Linked DNA regions of Homo sapiens: regions 2, 3, 4 and 5 are each linked to region 1. The links are contacts of gene promoters, found by promoter capture Hi-C in blood cells and fetal thymus (Javierre and others, 2016). All regions are on one chromosome and are shown on one strand. Each heading gives the region's core, a stretch centred on a gene start or on the middle of the fragment in contact. The rest is flanking DNA. Distances are from core to core; before and after follow the strand shown.

Evidence for each region. The method cuts DNA at HindIII sites, captures the fragments that hold promoters and counts their contacts. A CHiCAGO score of 5 or more calls a contact.
Region 2: a contact is called between the fragment with the promoter of LAMTOR4 here and the fragment with the promoter of ZNF789 in region 1, in 1 of 17 cell types (neutrophils). The highest score is 5.3, in neutrophils.
Region 3: a contact is called between a fragment that was not itself captured here and the fragment with the promoter of ZNF789 in region 1, in 1 of 17 cell types (erythroblasts). The highest score is 6.7, in erythroblasts.
Region 4: a fragment that was not itself captured here is called in contact with the fragment with the promoter of ZNF789 in region 1 in 1 of 17 cell types (erythroblasts); the score reaches 6.4 in erythroblasts.
Region 5: a fragment that was not itself captured here is called in contact with the fragment with the promoter of ZNF789 in region 1 in 3 of 17 cell types (erythroblasts, megakaryocytes and fetal thymus); the score reaches 8.5 in erythroblasts.

What each region holds. Positions count from the first base shown.
Region 1 is chr7:99,471,100-99,474,413 of GRCh38, forward strand. ZNF789 (zinc finger protein 789) reads left to right here and starts at 1,791. Exons shown (of 5, transcript NM_213603.3): 1 at 1,791-1,957. RefSeq lists enhancers at 1,031-1,190, 1,411-1,500, 1,791-2,080. The HindIII fragment of the contact is 10,687 bases long and covers 1-2,475 here.
Region 2 is chr7:100,147,411-100,150,724 of GRCh38, forward strand. LAMTOR4 (late endosomal/lysosomal adaptor, MAPK and MTOR activator 4) reads left to right here and starts at 1,508. Exons shown (of 4, transcript NM_001008395.4): 1 at 1,508-1,565; 2 at 2,089-2,169. The coding sequence starts at 1,563. RefSeq lists enhancers at 511-1,123, 1,148-1,207, 1,478-1,587, 1,736-2,348 and silencers at 1,888-1,977, 1,988-2,077. The HindIII fragment of the contact is 7,868 bases long and covers 1-2,858 here.
Region 3 is chr7:100,123,234-100,126,547 of GRCh38, forward strand. CNPY4 (canopy FGF signaling regulator 4) reads left to right here. Exons shown (of 6, transcript NM_152755.2): 5 at 1,281-1,398; 6 at 1,492-2,275. The coding sequence ends at 1,655. It also overlaps a transcript of TAF6 not described here. Among named protein-coding and RNA genes, the nearest start is that of MBLAC1, 2.1 kb to the right of the region's middle. RefSeq lists an enhancer at 2,304-2,973. The HindIII fragment of the contact is 158 bases long and covers 1,765-1,922 here.
Region 4 is chr7:100,060,130-100,063,443 of GRCh38, forward strand. All of the region lies in intron 3 of ZSCAN21 (zinc finger and SCAN domain containing 21), which reads left to right. Among named protein-coding and RNA genes, the nearest start is that of ZSCAN21, 12 kb to the left of the region's middle. The HindIII fragment of the contact is 4,595 bases long and covers 1-3,314 here.
Region 5 is chr7:99,995,361-99,998,674 of GRCh38, forward strand. It overlaps LOC105375423 (a long non-coding RNA gene), which reads left to right and starts at 1,715. Exons shown (of 3, transcript NR_159960.1): 1 at 1,715-1,750. RefSeq lists enhancers at 2,073-2,162, 2,173-2,292. The HindIII fragment of the contact is 2,314 bases long and covers 591-2,904 here.

The DNA.
Region 1 (3,314 bases), core at 541-3,040:
CTGCCTGCCTTGACCTCCCAAAGTGCTGGAATTGCAGGCGTGAGCCACTGCACTCAGCCAACACACATATGTTTATTGCAACACTATTTACAATAGCAAAGACATGGAACCAACCCAAATGCCCATCAGTGGTAGACTGGATAAAGAAAATGTGGTACAAATACACCATGGAATACTAAGCAGCCACAAAAAGGAATGAGATCCTGTCCTTTGCAGGGACATGGATGAAGCTGGTGGCCATCAGCCTCAGCAAACTAACACAGGAACAGAAAACCAAACACAGCATGTTCTCATTCATAAGTGGGAATTGAATATTGAGAACGCATGGACACAGAGAGGGGAACAACACACACCTGGGCCTTTTGGGGAGTCGGGGGTAAGGGGAGGGAACTTAGAGGATGGGTCAATAGGTGCAGCAAACCACCATGGCACATGTAACAAACCTGCACGTTCTGCACGTGTATCCTGTTTGTTTTGTTTTGTTTAGAAGAAATAAAAAACAAACAAAACTTGGGAGGCCAAGGCAGGCGGATCACTTGAGGTCAGGAGTTCGAGACCAGCCTGGCCAAAATGGTGAAACCCCGTCTCTACTAAAAACACACACACAAAAAAAATTAGCCGGGAGTGGTAGCGGGCGCCTGTAGTCCCAGCTACTCAGGAGGCTGACGCAGGAGAATGGCGTGAACCCGGGAGGCGGAGCTTGCAGTGAGCCGAGATCGCGCCACTGCACTCCAGCCTGGGCGAGAGCGAGACTGTCTCAAAAAAAAAAGAAAAAAAATTAACCCCTTACTCACATTAAAACTGTATTTTGGGGGTAATTTACATAAGCCACACAATTATCCTTTTAATTAAGATCTAATATTCTTTTTTTTTTTTTTGAGACAGAGTCTCGCTCTGTCGCCAGTCTGGAGTGCAGTGGTGGGATCTCGGCTCACTGCAAGCTCCGCCTCCCGAGTTCAAGTGATTCTCCTGCCTCAGCCTCCCGAGTAGCTGGCACTACAGGCACGCCGCCACCATGCCCAGCTAATTTTTTTTTTTTTTTTTTTTTTTTTGAGACGGAGTCTCGCTCTGTCACCCAGGCTGGAGTGCGGTGGCGCAATCTCGGCTCACCGCAACCTCCGCCTCCCGGGTTCAAGCGCTTCTCCTGCCTCAGCCTCCCGAGTAGCCGGGGTTACAGGCAGGCACCACCATGCCCGGCTAATTTTATTTGTATTTTTAGTAGAGACGGGTTTCTCCATTGTTGGTCAGGCTGGTATCGAACTCCCGACCTCAGGTGATCCACCCGCCTCGGCCTCCCAGAGTGCTGGGATTACAGGCGTGAGCCACCGCGCCCGGCAATTTTTTTGTATTTTTAGTAGAGAAGGGGTTTCACCATGTTGGCCAGGATGATCTAAATCTCTTGACCTGATCCGCCGGCCTCTGCCTCCCAAAGTGCTGGGATTACAGGCGTAAGCCACCGCGCCTGGCCCATTTTTCTTCTTTTATCTGATAACCTTACTCCCCTCCACAAACACACAGCCAAAGAAACGAATTGTGTCGCTCTTGAATCATAGAATAATTCTAAATTATGTTACGATTAAACAGGAGGGGCGGGGCCCTGTCCATCACGTGACTCTCTCGGTGCTGTCTCCGGCCGTTGATTGGCCTGGGCGGGGAGGGCGGCCGTTGATTGGTTCGGGCCCACTCGCGCGGGCGCCACTCTCTTTGTCTGACAAGAGAGTCGTGAAGCCTCCGCGGTCCTAGAGGGGCCGCTGGCTGGGACGCTTCGCTCGGCGCGCGCAGGTGGAGCCAGCGAGAGGCTCTGAGGCTGCCAGAGTGGTTGTGTCTGTTCCTCCGGTAAGGGGTGATTCGCCGAGGGGCGCGGACCAGACAGACCTCGGGTCAGGCCCGGGAACCCCGAGAGGAGAGCCCAGCCCCTGGTGGAGGCGGCTTGGCGGAGATTCGGAGCCGTCAGCAGGTTTGGGGAGAAGGAAACGAGTGTTGTGGGGGGCGTGGGTGCGGGGGGTAGGCCACTGCGCACACCCCCGGCTCGCAGGGGACGCTCCGGGTTTGTGCGGCGGCTCTCGGGGCCTGTGGCACCAGCTTTTGAGTATTTTTGGCGGTGTCAAGTCTTCGGCAGCGAGAGGAGCAAAGTCCGAAGAATGAATGGATGGTGAACGCCTGGACTTGGTTTTGTTAGAGTGGGAGATGAGCCGTGGTTGTTAGTGGAAGGTGTTCACGTGATTGTGAAGCGGCATTTTGGATTTTGTCAAAAGTTAACAGTCCCCTCCAGTTAAAGTTTTAAGAGTTTATTGTGCATGCAGAGGAACAGCTGGCAAATTGTTCCAATGGCAGCTTGGAAAGCTAAATGAGGAAGTGCAGTGATCTTGATTGTAATTGGCCATTATCAACTTGCATTCCTTCTAGGGTAAGTCGAGCTGGATCAGCCTCGCATCTGTAGCTGATTGGTTCAGTTTATCATGCGGACGAGAAAAAAGCTTCTTTCCTGGTCAGCGCACACTTTTCAGGGAAATAAGGAATTGTTGTTGCTGTTGTGTTTGAGACGAAGTGTTACTCTGTTGCCCAGTTTGGAGTACAATGGGCCAATCTCGACTCACTGCAACCTCCAACTCCCGGGTTCAAGCGATTCTCCTGCCTCAGCCTCTCGAGTAGCGGGGACTACAGGCACGCGCCACCATGCCCGGCTAATTTTTGTATTTTTAGTGGAGACTGGGTTTCACTATGTTGGCCAGGCTGGTCTTGAACTCCTGACCTCATGATCCGCCCGCCTCGGCCTCCCAAAGTGCTGGGATTTACAGGTGTGAGCCACCACGCCCGGCCTGTTGTTTTTAAGAGAGACAGGGTCTTGCTCTGTCACCCAGGGTGGAGTGTAGTGGTGCCATCATAGCTCATTGCAGTCTCCAACTCCTGAACTCAAGGGAGAAATCAATGTATTTTAAATGCCTTACATGGCTGTGGGTGGTTGGCCTAGGGCCGTACCCAAAACATGGACTCCATTTAATTTTTCATTAGCAAGTCTGACATTCAGATGCACAGCCTTCACAAACACATTCAGTAAATATAGTGCAGGGGTGTCCAATCTCTTGGCTTCCCTGGGCCACATTGGAAGAAGAATTGTCTTGGACTACACATAAAATACACAAACACTAAAAATAGCTCATGAGCTAAAAAAAAATCGCAAAACAATTTCATAAGGTTTTAAGAAAGTTTACGAGCCGGGCGCGGTGGCTCACGCCTGTAATCCCAGCACTTTGGGAGGCCAAGGCGGGAGGATCACGAGGTCAGGAGATCAAGACCATCCTGGCTAACACGGT
Region 2 (3,314 bases), core at 258-2,757, 680 kb after region 1:
ACCTCAGCCTCCCGGGTAGCTGGGACTACATGTGCAGTATCATGCCTGGTTAATTTTTAAATTTTTAGAGATGGGGTCTTGCTATGTTGCCCAGGCTTCTAGAATCATTCTTCATATTATTTCACTAACACAGCCTCCACCACATTAATATGGCAACAGGTTTAGAAATTATTTAAAACAAAAATTTCTAATGTTTACATATATTGTGTGATGTGTGTGTGTGTGTGTGTGTGTGTGTGTGTGTGTATCATTCCAAGGTACTGTTTCTAATTTTTTCCTGTAGGGAATGAATATTCAGTATTGCAGCTGCATTGGCTAGCTGGGGATTCTATTTACCACCACATTGTCCCGGACTGAATCTGGGGACAAAAAAACCACTTCGGGAACAAATTCTTGTCTTCAACAAAGAGCTGTCTTGAGTAGGCACAAAAGTAGCATTTGAGGGCCGGACGCGGTGGCTCAAGCCTGTAATCCCAGCACTTTGGGAGGCCGAGGCGGGCGGATCACGAGGTCAGGAGTTTGAGACCAGCCTGGCCAATATGGTGAAACCCTATCTCTACTAAAAACACAAAAATAGCCGGGCGTGGTGGTGGGCGCCTGTAATCCCAGCTACTCGCGAGGCTGAGGCAGGAGAATTGCTTGAACACGGGAGGCGGAAGTTGTATTGAGCCAGAGATCGCGCCATTGCACTGCAACCTGGGCGACCGAGTGAGACTCCGACTCAAAAAAAAAAAAAAGTAGCATTTGAGTACCTTTTTTTTCCTTTTCTTTTCTTTTTTTTTTAGAGGAAGGGCACCCAGGCTGGAGTGCAGTGGCACCATAATAGCTCACTGCACTCTGCAACTGCTGAGCTCAAGAGATTCTCCTCCATCAGCCTCCCTAGTAGCTGGAATTACTGGCGTGAGGCACCATGCCCGGCTTATTTTCTTATTTTTTTGTAGAGGTGGTTGGAGCGGGGGGACTGGGGAGGGTCTCGCTATGTTGCTCAGGCTCGTCTCGAACTCTTGCCCTGAAATGATCCGTCCTCGGCCTCGCAAAGCGCTGAGATTACAGGCGTGAGCCACGGCGCCCAGCCTTGAATAGTTTTTCACATGCATTGCACGTTATTTCCTTTTATTCTCTAGTTTTTGGGTCCAGTCTTAAACCTGGGAAGGGATTCATTTGGGGGGGTCACACCAGCGGGCATCCTGGCTCAGGCGGAACTCTGGCTCCAGACAGTGCGCCCAGGACCAAACGGTCAACCCCGGCCTACTCCCGCCCCTCCCAGATCCTCCCCTCCTCGGACGCTCCCGCGTCTTCCTCTCGCTCAGGCACTGAGGGGCGGGGAGATGGGTGTTAAAGAGGGGATATCACCAATCAACGTGCGCCTCCGGGAAACAGCGCTTCGCACTGGCTGGTTGGGTCTGACGACGTGGCCACTGTCCAATCCTCATGCTAGAGGCGGGGCTAAAGGCCAGTGGCGCAAGCAGAAGGAGGAGCGCAGCGGCTGCAAGCACGTGACCGGGGCCTGAAGCCGGAAGCTACCTATCTGGTAGGGAGCTCCCCCAGCACCGAAGACTGCGATGGTGAGTGAGGACGCATGCGCGAGAGGACCCGCCGGGGGTTCAGCGTCTCTGCTCCCCAGTCTGTGTGGTTTCCCCCTGGTGGGCCTGCGCTCCACCCTCACCTCCTATCCGCTCGGGGAGGAAGAGGGGATGGAAATGGGAGGGATGGCGACGAGAATGCTGGGGAGGGGTCTGTGGGAGGGTGTTCTGGGGCTGCGGGTAGTCTGCAGGTCGGGCGGAGACGAAGGGAGGTGAAGAGAGGGTCTGGGGGCAGGGGCCAGTGGGGCAGCAAAGGCCCCTTGGGGTAGCAAAGGTGGGATGTGGAAGGCCAGGGGAGCCCGGGGGCGAGAGTGGGGGCAGATGGAGGCTCGGGAAGATCAGTATTGAGGACCATGTAGGGGGGAGGGGGCCGGGAAGGGACCTGGCTGGGGAATGAGAAAACCTGGGGCCATCGTCAACCCAGAGACTTGGGTTTGCAGGTGAAGGGTATCGGGCCGTCCATCCCTCTAGCATGCTTCTCACGACTTGCATCTTTACCCACTAGACTTCTGCGCTGACCCAGGGGCTGGAGCGAATCCCAGACCAGCTCGGCTACCTGGTACTGAGTGAAGGTGCAGTGCTGGCGGTGCGTTCTGGGAAAGGGAGGGGGTCCCTTAGTGCACACAGCCCGGTAACCCCTTCTAATATTGGCCCTTCTTTTCTCGGCTTTTATCTGGTTTCCTGCCTGGCATCTATTAGGTTGGTACAAAAGTATTTGCAGTTTTTGCAATTACTTTCAGTAATCAGTCTGTGGAATCTTAGTCTCCTAACGGCTGCGATTTATTTATTTATAGTTTTTGAGACTGAGTTTCGTTCTTGTTGCCCAAGCTGGAGTGCAGTGGTGCGACCTCGGCTCACTGCAACCTCCGCCTCCGGGGTTCAAGCGATTCTCCTGCCTCAGCCTCCCGAGTAGCTGGGATTATAGGCACGTGCCACCATGCTCTGCTAATTTTTTGTATTTTTAGTAGAAACGGGGTTTCACCGTGTTAGCCAGGCTGGTCTCAAACTCCTGACCTCAGGTGATCCACCTGCCTCAGCCTCCCAAAGTGCTGGGATTACAGGCGTGAGCCAACATGCCTGGCCTTTATTTGGTATTTCTTAAAAAGGCATTTGTATTTTGTTCCATAGTACTGTATGGTGTTAGGTCTCTAGATTACAGGCGTGAGCCACCACGTCTGGCCTTTATTTGGTATTTCTTAAAGAGGCATTTGTATTTTGTTCCATAGTACTGTATAGTGTTAAGTCTCCAGATGTTTTTGACTTAGGTAGAGACAAAGCTTAAGGTTAAGGGTTGAAAACAATACAGGTGGTAAAGACTATTGAGGGAATCCAGGATATTAAAAATTCAACATGTTATGACAAGGTAACTAACTTTCCGGGAGGTAGGAATTCAGCCCACCTTAAAGGAGAGTATTTACAGTGGGGGAGGACTTATTTGCAGGTGTGTGGCACTAACCTATCTGAACTGATGGTAAGTTTATGCTGAAAAGATTTGGGAAGGTTTGAGGGAAGAGAGGAGGATATGGTCAGGGAGGATGTAATTGTGAAGGATCTTCAAGGCCAGGTTAACACACTTGAACTTATTCTTGAAGGTAATACAGTTTGAAAGGTTTTTTAAAACAGAAACAAGACCCAGTGAGGTGGTTGAGCAATATTGTTGTTAGTGATGTGAAGATGGGCAGAAGGAGGCGTCATTAAGAGATGAGACTGGGCTGGGCGTGGTGGTTCATG
Region 3 (3,314 bases), core at 594-3,093, 650 kb after region 1:
TGGGAGGCTGAGGCAAGAGAATTGCTTGAATCCAGGAGGTGGAGGTTGCCATGAGCCAAGATCGCACCATTGCACTCCAGCCAGGGCGACAGAGCAAGACTCCATCTTAAAAAAAAAAACAAAAACAAAAACAAAAAAAAAGAAATCATAATGAGCCGGGTGGAGTGGCTCACAACTGTAATGCTAGCACTTAGTGAGTCTGAGGGAGAAGGACTGTTTGAGACCAGAGTTAGAGACCAGCTTGTGCAACATAAGAGACCCCCTTCTCTACAAATAATAATAATTTTAAAGAATTTTTTTTTTCAAGACGGAGTTTCACTCTTATTGCCCAGGCTGGAGTGCACCGGCACCATCTCGGCTCACCGCGACCTCCGCCTCCCGGGTTCAAGCCATTCTCCTGCTTCAGCCTCCCGAGTAGCTGGGATTACAGGCCCCTGCCACCACGCCCAGCTAATTTTTTGTAATTTTAGTAGAGACGGGGTTTCATCATGTTGGCCAGGCTGGTCGAACTCCTGACCTCAGGTGATCCACCCGCCTTGGCCTCCCAAAGTGCTGGGATTACAGGCATGAGCCATTGGGCCCTGCCTTAAGGAAAATTTTTAAAAAGTAATAATGGGCCAGGTGCGATGGCTCACGTATGTAATCCCAGCACTTTGGGAGGGCGAGACAGGCGGATCACGACATCAGGGGTTCAAGACCAGCCGGGCCATCATAGTGAAACCCTGTCTCTACTAAAAATACAAGAATTAGCCGGGCGTGGTGGTGTGGTGGCATGCATCTGTAGTCCCAGCTACTCAGGAAGCTGAGGCAGGAGAATCACTTGAACCCGGGAGGCGGAGGTTGCAGTGAGCTGAGATCCCACCACTGCAGTCCAGCCTGGGTGACAGAGCGAGACTCCATCTCAAAAAAAAAAAAAAGTAACAATGGTTGCTAATGATATCCACCATCACTTATTGAGCACCTACTGTGTCCCAGACTCTGGACCAGATACTTTGCATCTGTAGCCTCATTTTACCCTTAACAGCCTGATGTGGTAGGTGCAATTACCATACATATTTTACAGGCAAGGAGCTGAGACTCAAGAGTTTAATAATCTACTTGGCAGAATAGGTGCTGGTAAATGTTTGTTGAATGAATGAGGATTGCACATCTAGTAGGCCAAACTTAGCTTCCTGGCTACCTGCCTCTCCAAAATCAGTCAGGTTGAGCAGGGAGAGAAGACAGGCGGGATCCCAAATCCCTCCAGAGCAGATACTCTTCTGGCCCTTCTACTTGACCAGTGTGAGACCATGTTGGAGGAGTTTGAAGACATTGTGGGAGACTGGTACTTCCACCATCAGGAGCAGCCCCTACAAAATTTTCTCTGTGAAGGTCATGTGCTCCCAGCTGCTGAAACTGGTAAGCGTAAGGGTTGAACTCCTCTCCTGCCAAGCCATAGCCTCCCCTGCCTCCAGGACTAATATCTAAATTGTTTTCTGTCATCCGATCTAGCATGTCTACAGGAAACTTGGACTGGAAAGGAGATCACAGATGGGGAAGAGAAAACAGAAGGGGAGGAAGAGCAGGAGGAGGAGGAGGAAGAGGAGGAAGAGGAAGGGGGAGACAAGATGACCAAGACAGGAAGCCACCCCAAACTTGACCGAGAAGATCTTTGACCCTTGCCTTTGAGCCCCCAGGAGGGGAAGGGATCATGGAGAGCCCTCTAAAGCCTGCACTCTCCCTGCTCCACAGCTTTCAGGGTGTGTTTATGAGTGACTCCACCCAAGCTTGTAGCTGTTCTCTCCCATCTAACCTCAGGCAAGATCCTGGTGAAACAGCATGACATGGCTTCTGGGGTGGAGGGTGGGGGTGGAGGTCCTGCTCCTAGAGATGAACTCTATCCAGCCCCTTAATTGGCAGGTGTATGTGCTGACAGTACTGAAAGCTTTCCTCTTTAACTGATCCCACCCCCACCCAAAAGTCAGCAGTGGCACTGGAGCTGTGGGCTTTGGGGAAGTCACTTAGCTCCTTAAGGTCTGTTTTTAGACCCTTCCAAGGAAGAGGCCAGAACGGACATTCTCTGCGATCTATATACATTGCCTGTATCCAGGAGGCTACACACCAGCAAACCGTGAAGGAGAATGGGACACTGGGTCATGGCCTGGAGTTGCTGATAATTTAGGTGGGATAGATACTTGGTCTACTTAAGCTCAATGTAACCCAGAGCCCACCATATAGTTTTATAGGTGCTCAATTTTCTATATCGCTATTAAACTTTTTTCTTTTTTTCTAAAAACTAGCTGGGCCCAAAGTTTCAAACAACAGCCGGGCACACATAGCTAGCTGGTCGATGAGGCAGCACCCAGAATGGCCGCTGTCTTGTTAAGCTCAAGCTCCAGCCTGAGCAACATAGTGAAACCCCAATTCTACACACACACACACACACAAAGAAGACTGCAGGGCTGGTGGTGCAGCGCCTGTAGTCCCAGTTACTGCAGAGGTGGAGATGGGAGGATCACTTGAGTCCAAAAGGTCAAGACCAGCCTGGAGGCTGGGCGCAGTGACTCACACCTGTAATCCTAGCACTTTGGGAGGCCGAGGCAGGCGGATCACCTGAGTGTAGGAGTTCGAGAGCAGCCTGGCCAACATGGAGAAACCTCGTCTCTACCAAAAATACAAAAATTAGCCGGGCGGCTGGGCGCGGTGACTCACGCCTGTAATCCCAGCACTTTGGGAGGCCAAGGCGGGTGGATAACAAGATTAGGAGATCGAGACCATCCTGGCTAATACGGTGAAAGCCCGTCTCTACTAAAAATACAAAAAATTAGCCGGGTGTGGTGGCAGGCGCCTGCAGTCCCAGCTACTCGGGAGGCTGAGGCAGAAGAATGGCGGGAACCCGGGAGGCGGAGCTGGCAGTGAGCCAAGATCGTGCCACTGCACTCCAGCCTGGGTGATAGAGCGAGACTCCGTCTCAAAAAAAAAAGCCACGCATGGTGGTGGGCGCCTGTAATCCCAGTTACTCGGGAGGCTGAGACAGGAGAATCGCTTGAACCCAGGAGGCGGAGGTTGCAGTGAGCTGAGATCACGCCACTGCACTCTAGCCTGGGCGACAGAACAAGACTCCGTCTCAAAAAAAACCAAAAAAAATTTAGAGGGGCGTGCACGCCTGTATTCCCAGCACTCCAGGAGGCTGAAGCAGGAGGATCGCTAGAACCAGGGGTTCAAGACTGGGGCGAGCTATGATGGTGCCCCTGCACTCTAGCCTGGGCGACAGGGCGAGACTGTCTCAAAAGAAAAAAAGACCAGGCGCGGTGGCTCACACCTGTAATCCTAGC
Region 4 (3,314 bases), core at 454-2,953, 590 kb after region 1:
TGATTAGCAAACAGAGGTAGATGGAAGGAAGTCATCTGAAATGCTACTTAGAAAGATCAAGGTGGCAGGCATTGGACATCAGTGTGGGATCAGATGAGAAGGTCCAGTGTATGTTTAATAGCTGTTCCAGAGGAGGCGGAAAGAGTTGGAGAGGGCAGACATGATGGCTCACACCGGTCATCCCAGCACTTTGGGAGGCCGAGGAGGGCGGATCATGAGGTCAGGAGATGGAGACCATCCTGGTCAACATGGTGAAACCCCATCTCTACTAAAAATACAAAAATTAGTTGGGCGTGGTGGCATGCACCTGTAGTCCCAGCTACTCAGGAGGCTGAGGCAGGAGAATCGCTTGAAGCCAGGAGGCGGAGATTGCAGTGAGCCAAGATCGCGCCATTGCACTCCAGCCTGGCAACAGAGTGAGATTCCATCTCAAAAAATAAAAAAAAAACCAGACTGGCTGGGCATGGTGGCTCACGCCTGTAATCCCAACACTTCGGGAGGCTGAGGCAGGCGGATCACCTGAGGTCAGGAGTTTGAGACCAGCCTGGCCAACATAGTGAAACTCCATCTCAACCGGGCATGGTGGCACGTGTTGTCCCTGGGACCTGTAGTCCCAGCTACTCGGGAGGCTGAGGCAGGGGAATCGCTTGAACTTGGGAGGCAGAGGTTGCAGTAAGTCAAGATCGCGCCACTGCACTCCAGCCTGGCGCAACAGAGTAGGACTCCGTCAAAAAAAAAAAAAAAAAAAACATTTCTACTAAAAATACAAAAATTAGTCGAGTGTATTGGTACACGCCTGTAGTCCCAGCTCCCAGCTACTTGGGAGGCTGAGGCAGGAGAATCACCTGAACCCAGGAGGTGGAGGTTGTGGTGCAGCAGTGACCTGAGATTGCACCACTGCACTCCAGCCTGGGCGACAGAGTGAGACCGGGTCTCAAAAGTAACCAAGACATAAAAGACGGATTACCCCCCTCAAAGGAATGCTGATTAGACTGATGACAAACTACCCAACAGTAACAGTGCAGCCTGGAAGACAATGAAATAAATAGTCCTGGTAAATTCTTTTTCAATTTTTGCCTCATTCAGCTATTTTTTAAAATGTTAACTTTTGGCTGGGCATGGTGGCTCACACCTGTAATCCCAGCACTTTGGGAGGCCAAGGCAGGTGGATCATTTGAGGCCAGGAGTTTGAGGCTAGCCTGAGCAACATGGTAAAACCCCATTTGTACAAAAAATACGAAAATTAGCCAGGTGTGGTGGCTAGTGCCTGGGGTCCCAGCTATTCGGGAGGCTGAGGCAGGAGGATCATTTGAGCCTGGGAGGTGGAGGTTGCAGTGAGCTAAGATTATGCCACTGTACTCCCACCTGGGCAACAGAGCCAGACTCTATCTCAAAACAAAACAAAGTTTATGAGGTTACTTCTGTCCCACACATGTAGTCCATGGCTGTCCAGTGACTCGAAGAGAAGTCTGTGTGTAGGCAAGCGATTGCTAATTATGGAGAGTGTGAAGGACTTCAGCTGCTGAAGCTCTGACCCCCAGCAGATGGTGAGGAGAGGGTGAGCCTGGAAGCAGCTGATAGTCACTGTCAGCAAAGGAAGGAGATAGACAGCTGGGCAGAGAGAGAGAAGCTGTCAGGGCGGTTCCTAGGGAAGGGGAAACGGGTGAAGAAGGTAGCTTGCTGACAGGCTTCTGTACCCTCAGAGGACTAACAGTTCTCCAAGGGGTCCCATTTTTCAGAGCGAATTTCTCTTACTCCCCTTTTCCCTGATGTGGATGGCCAGGTGGACTTTGAAGAGGTGTGACTGCCTGGTGAGGCGTTCTAAAAAGATAAACTGGTTCCATCTGATTTTAATAGTGAGCGTCACTTTATAACTGAATTACAAGATGTAGCCAGTGTAAGTAAATGATGAGCGTGAAGCCCTCTTGGAGATCACGTGCTTTCATTCTGATTGATACGGATCTGGGGCGGGAATGATTGTAAATGGTCAGAATGCCCTCTGATTGCTTTTATGTTCAACTGCTGTGGGAACATGGGTTTTTGTGAGTTTGCCACTCAGCCTCATCCTTAATTGTCCTTGTCATTTTCCTTAACCCTGGCCCTGCAGCAGTCATTCTCCCTTGTTTTTAATCTGCGTGAGGCTCAACTGTTCTTTTTTTTTTTTTTTTTTTTTTTAAAGGGCCGGGTGTGGTGGTTCATGCCTGTAATCCCAGCACTTCGGGAGGCTGAGGCGGGCAGATCACCTGAGGTCAGGAGTTCTAGACCAGCCTATGGTCTAGAACATGGAGAAACCCTGTCTCTACTAAAAATACAAAATAAGCCGGGCATGGTGGCACATGCCTGTAATCTCAGCTACTCGGGAGGCTGAGGCAGGAGAATCGCTTGAACCTGGGAGGCAGAGGTTGCGGTGAGCTGAGATTGAACCATTGCACTCCAGCCTGGACAACAGGAGCAAAACTCCATCTCAAAAAAAAAAAAAACATCTGGGCACGGTGGCTCACGCCTGTAATCCCAGCACGTGGATCACCTGATGTCAGGAGTTTGAGACCAGCCTAGCCAACATGGTGAAACCCCATCTCTATTAAAAATACAAAAATTAGCTGGGCGTGGTGCCAGGTGCTTCTAGTCCCAGCTCTTCGGGAGGCTGAGTCAGGAGAATCACTTGAACCCAGGAGCGGAGACTGCGGTGAGCCAAGATGATACCACTGCACTCCAGCCTGGGCAACAGAATGAGACTCCGTCTCAAAATAAATAAATAAAATAAATATTTTTTTAAAGATAGGGTCTCACTCTGTTGCCCAGGCCAGCACAATCATGGCTCACTGCAGTCTTGACCCATTGCAGCCTTGACCTTCCAGGCTTAAGTGATCCTCTTATTCAGTCTCCCAAGTAGCTGGGACCACAGGGGCACACCATGCCCACCTAATTTTTTTATTTTAACTTTTTGTAGAAATGGGGTCTCCCTATGTTGCCCAAGCTGGTCTTGAACTCCCAGACTCAAGCCATCCTCCCGCCTCAGCTCCCAAAGTGCTGGGATTACAGGCGTGAGCCGCTGTGCCCGGCTACCACTCTCATATGCTGCATTTTGCCTTCTGTATGTGAAGCTGTTTTTCTGGCAGAAAAAGCCACGTTCTCTTCACATCTTAATAGCTTCGGGTGGGGAATTGTGTGAAAGTGTGGTATGGAGGCCAGGCCTGGTGGCTCATGCCTATAATCCCAGCACTCTGGGAGGCTGAGGCAGGCGGATCACCTGAGGTCAGGAGATCAAGACCATCCTGGCCAGCATGTTGAAACCCCATCTCTACTAAAAAAAA
Region 5 (3,314 bases), core at 498-2,997, 520 kb after region 1:
TGTTTGTTTATTTGTTTGTGTGCTTTGGTTTGGTTTGCTTTTTTTTTTTTTTTTTTTTTTTTTTTGAGATGGAGTCTCGCCCTGTTGCCCAGGCTGGAGTGTAGTGGCGAAATCTCGGCTCACTGCAACCTCCACCTCCCTGGTTCAAGCAATTCCCCTGTCTCAGCCTCCCGAGTAGCTGAGATTACAGGTGCACACCACCACGCCCGGCTAATTTTTTTGTATTTTTAGTAGAGATGGGGTTTCACCATGTTGGCCAGACTGGTCTCGAACTTCTGACCTCAGGCAATCCGCCTGCCTCAGCCTCCCAAAGCGCTGGGATTACAGGCATGAGCCACTGCGCCCCGCCTCCATGTTAATCACTCTTTCTGATTTCAAATAACTCATTATCCCCATGACCTTATGGATTTGTTTTTCCTCTTCATCCACAAAATTCTCCAGAGAAGTCTCCCTTGTTATCTCTTGGCTGTGCTTTCTATCTCACCAGTTATCTTTCTCCAAAGAGCTTCCTCTGCAAAGAAGCTTTGTATATGAAGACCATGTGGGGGCTGAATCAAGACCAAGTTTCACAACCTAAAAGTAGTTCACAAAGCTTCCTTGCCTCTATTCTCTGCAAATCTGTAAACTCTTCAGCTGACCCAATTTCTCTCTTTAGCCTTCAGAGATTATTTTATTTTATTTTATTTCATTTCATTTCATTTCATTTTGACAGAATCTAGCTCTGTCGCCCAGGCTGGAGTGCAGTGGCACCATCTTTGCTCACTGCAACCTCCCCCTCACAGGTTCAAGCAACTGTCCTGCCTCAGCCTCCCGAGTAGCTGGGATTACAGGCGTGAGCCACCACGCCCAGCTGATTTTTTTTTGTATTTTTAGTAGAGACAGGGTTTTGCCATGTTGGTCAGGCTGGTCTGGAACTCCTGATCTCAAATGATCCGCCTGCCTTCACCTCCCAAAGTGCTGGGATTACAGGCGGGAGCCACCACACCAGCCAATTCTATTTTTAATTTTATTGAAGAAGCGCTGTACTATTTCTCACGGGGGCTGCACCATGTTATGTTCCCACCAGCAATGCACAAAGATTCCAATTTGTCCACATCCTCACCAAACACCTGCTATTTTGTTTTGTTTTGTTGGTGGTGGTGGTGGTTTTTTGTGTTTGTTTGTTTGTTTGTTTTTAGTACAGGGAGAGTATCCCTAATCCAAATATCTGAGCTCCAAAAGTTACAAAACCAGAACTTGAGGGCCATCATGGCACTTAGAGAAAATGCTCATTAGAGCATTTCAGACTTAGGATTTTGGGATTAGGGCTGCTCAACCAGTAAAGCAAATATTCCAAAGTCAAAAAAAAATTCTGAAATCTGAAACATTTCCGGTCCCAAGCATTTCAGATAAGGGATATTTAAACTGTAGCCATCCCGACGAGTGTGAGGCGTCTTCTCAAAAGTCTTGCACACTATTTTGTCTGCTTTGATCTGTCATGTGTTTCCTACCACTTTGAAAGCATAACGAATTTTATCCGTATTCATTTATGATGAGAGGCAGTCCAGGCAGTGCAAAGGGCACAAATCGTGGTCCCACAAGTCCTGGCTTCTGACCCGGATCACTGTGAGACCCTGAGCAAGCAAGAACTTGCTCCAGGCCTCAGTTTCCTTGGTCTCTGGGGGAAGCCAGGATGATAATCAGCCATGCTCCAACCCCTCAGCTGAAACTCAGGCCTGGATGCATTGTAAATGGATTTCCTCTTCCACAGGTGAGCCGCTGAATTCGATTCCTTCTTCCTTCCTTCCTTCCTTCTTTCCTTCCTTCCTTTCTTCCTTCCTCTCTTCCTTCCTTCCCTCTCTCCCTCCTCCCTCCCTCTGTCCTTCCTCCCTCTCTCCTTCCCTCTCTTCTTTCCTTTTTTTTCCTTTTTGAGATGGGGTCTCACTGTGTTTCCCAGGCTGGAGTGCAATGGTGCAAGCAAAGCTCACTGCAGCCTCTGACTCCAGGGCTCAAGTGATCCTTCCACTTAAGCCTCCCGAATAGCTGGGGCTACAGGTGTGCCCCACCACACCCGGCTCATTTTATTAATTCTTGGTAGAGACCAGGTCTCTCTCTGTTGCCCAGGCCAGTCTCGAACTCCTGGCCTCAAGCGATCCTCCCACCTCGGCCTCCCAAAGGACTGGGATTACAGGTACGAGTCACTGCGCCCAGGCTTTTCTCCCTTTTGACTCATTTTGAGGCCCCCGTCGTAGGGTACACGCCCTGGGAATCGGGGGTCTTCCAGTATAGGGAACCACCGAGATGCGGGCCCTCCGAAGTCCTAGAGAGGGCGCCTCGGCCGCCGGCACCCGCCACACTTCCGGCCTTTGTGGGCCGCAGCGACGGCGGTCTGCGGCTGTCGGTTCTGTTTGTTGCTGTCACTGCTGTTTGTTCTTGCCAGCGGCTAGGTGTGTAGTTGCTTGGGGCTCCTAGCACGAGGCCTCTGTCCCCAGGCACGCAGCGCCAGTCTCCGGCTGTTGCGCCCTGGGCGCCGCCTCTCTCCGGCCCCCCTTTGTTTCCTGAGCCAGCTGGGAAGACTAAAAGGGTGGGTCCTGGGAGCGGCCCATGGTTCGACCCTTCTTTTCAGGCATCCTTGGAGCATGCAGGCTGCAGATTTCAGGCCGACCCCGCTAGCACCAAAGTCCATGCTGCTGTCCGTGGCAGCTCAGTTTGAAAATGGCCTGGTAGAAAGTCCAGGTTGTTGAACTGGTAAACGCACTCTGCATCCCTTGACTTGAAGTTTTCATTATTCTCTAACGTGCACTTACCCCCAGTAGAGAGCAAATGAAGATTCATACAAGAAATACTGCCTTTCCCAAAATGGGACATTCCAGCAAGGGTGCCGGTACTGACTTGGGTTAGCTTAAGAGAGAGATGCAGTTGAAAAGCTTGTCGGCAGGGATCAGGGAAGACTTCCACTAAGTGGTGTGTATTCAAAGGAGAGGTAGGAATTGGTTAGGTGGACGACATGCTCCACCATCCAAGAAGAACATTCCAGATGGAACTCAGGCAAAAGCACAAAGTTCGAAAAGTCAGAAGTGCAGGGGAAGTGGTAAATATTTCGACACCATCCAGATAAATGGTTGTTTTTGGTTTTTTGGGATGGGGGACAGGGTCTTGCTCTGTTGCCCAGGCTGGAGTGCAGTGGCACGATCTCGGCTCACTGCAACCTCCGTCTCCCGGGTTCAAGCGATTCTCCTGCCTCAGCCTCCCCAGTAGCTAGAATTACAGGCGCCTGCCACCAAGCCCAGCTAATTTTTGTATTTTTAATAGAGACAGGGTTTCGCTATGTTGGC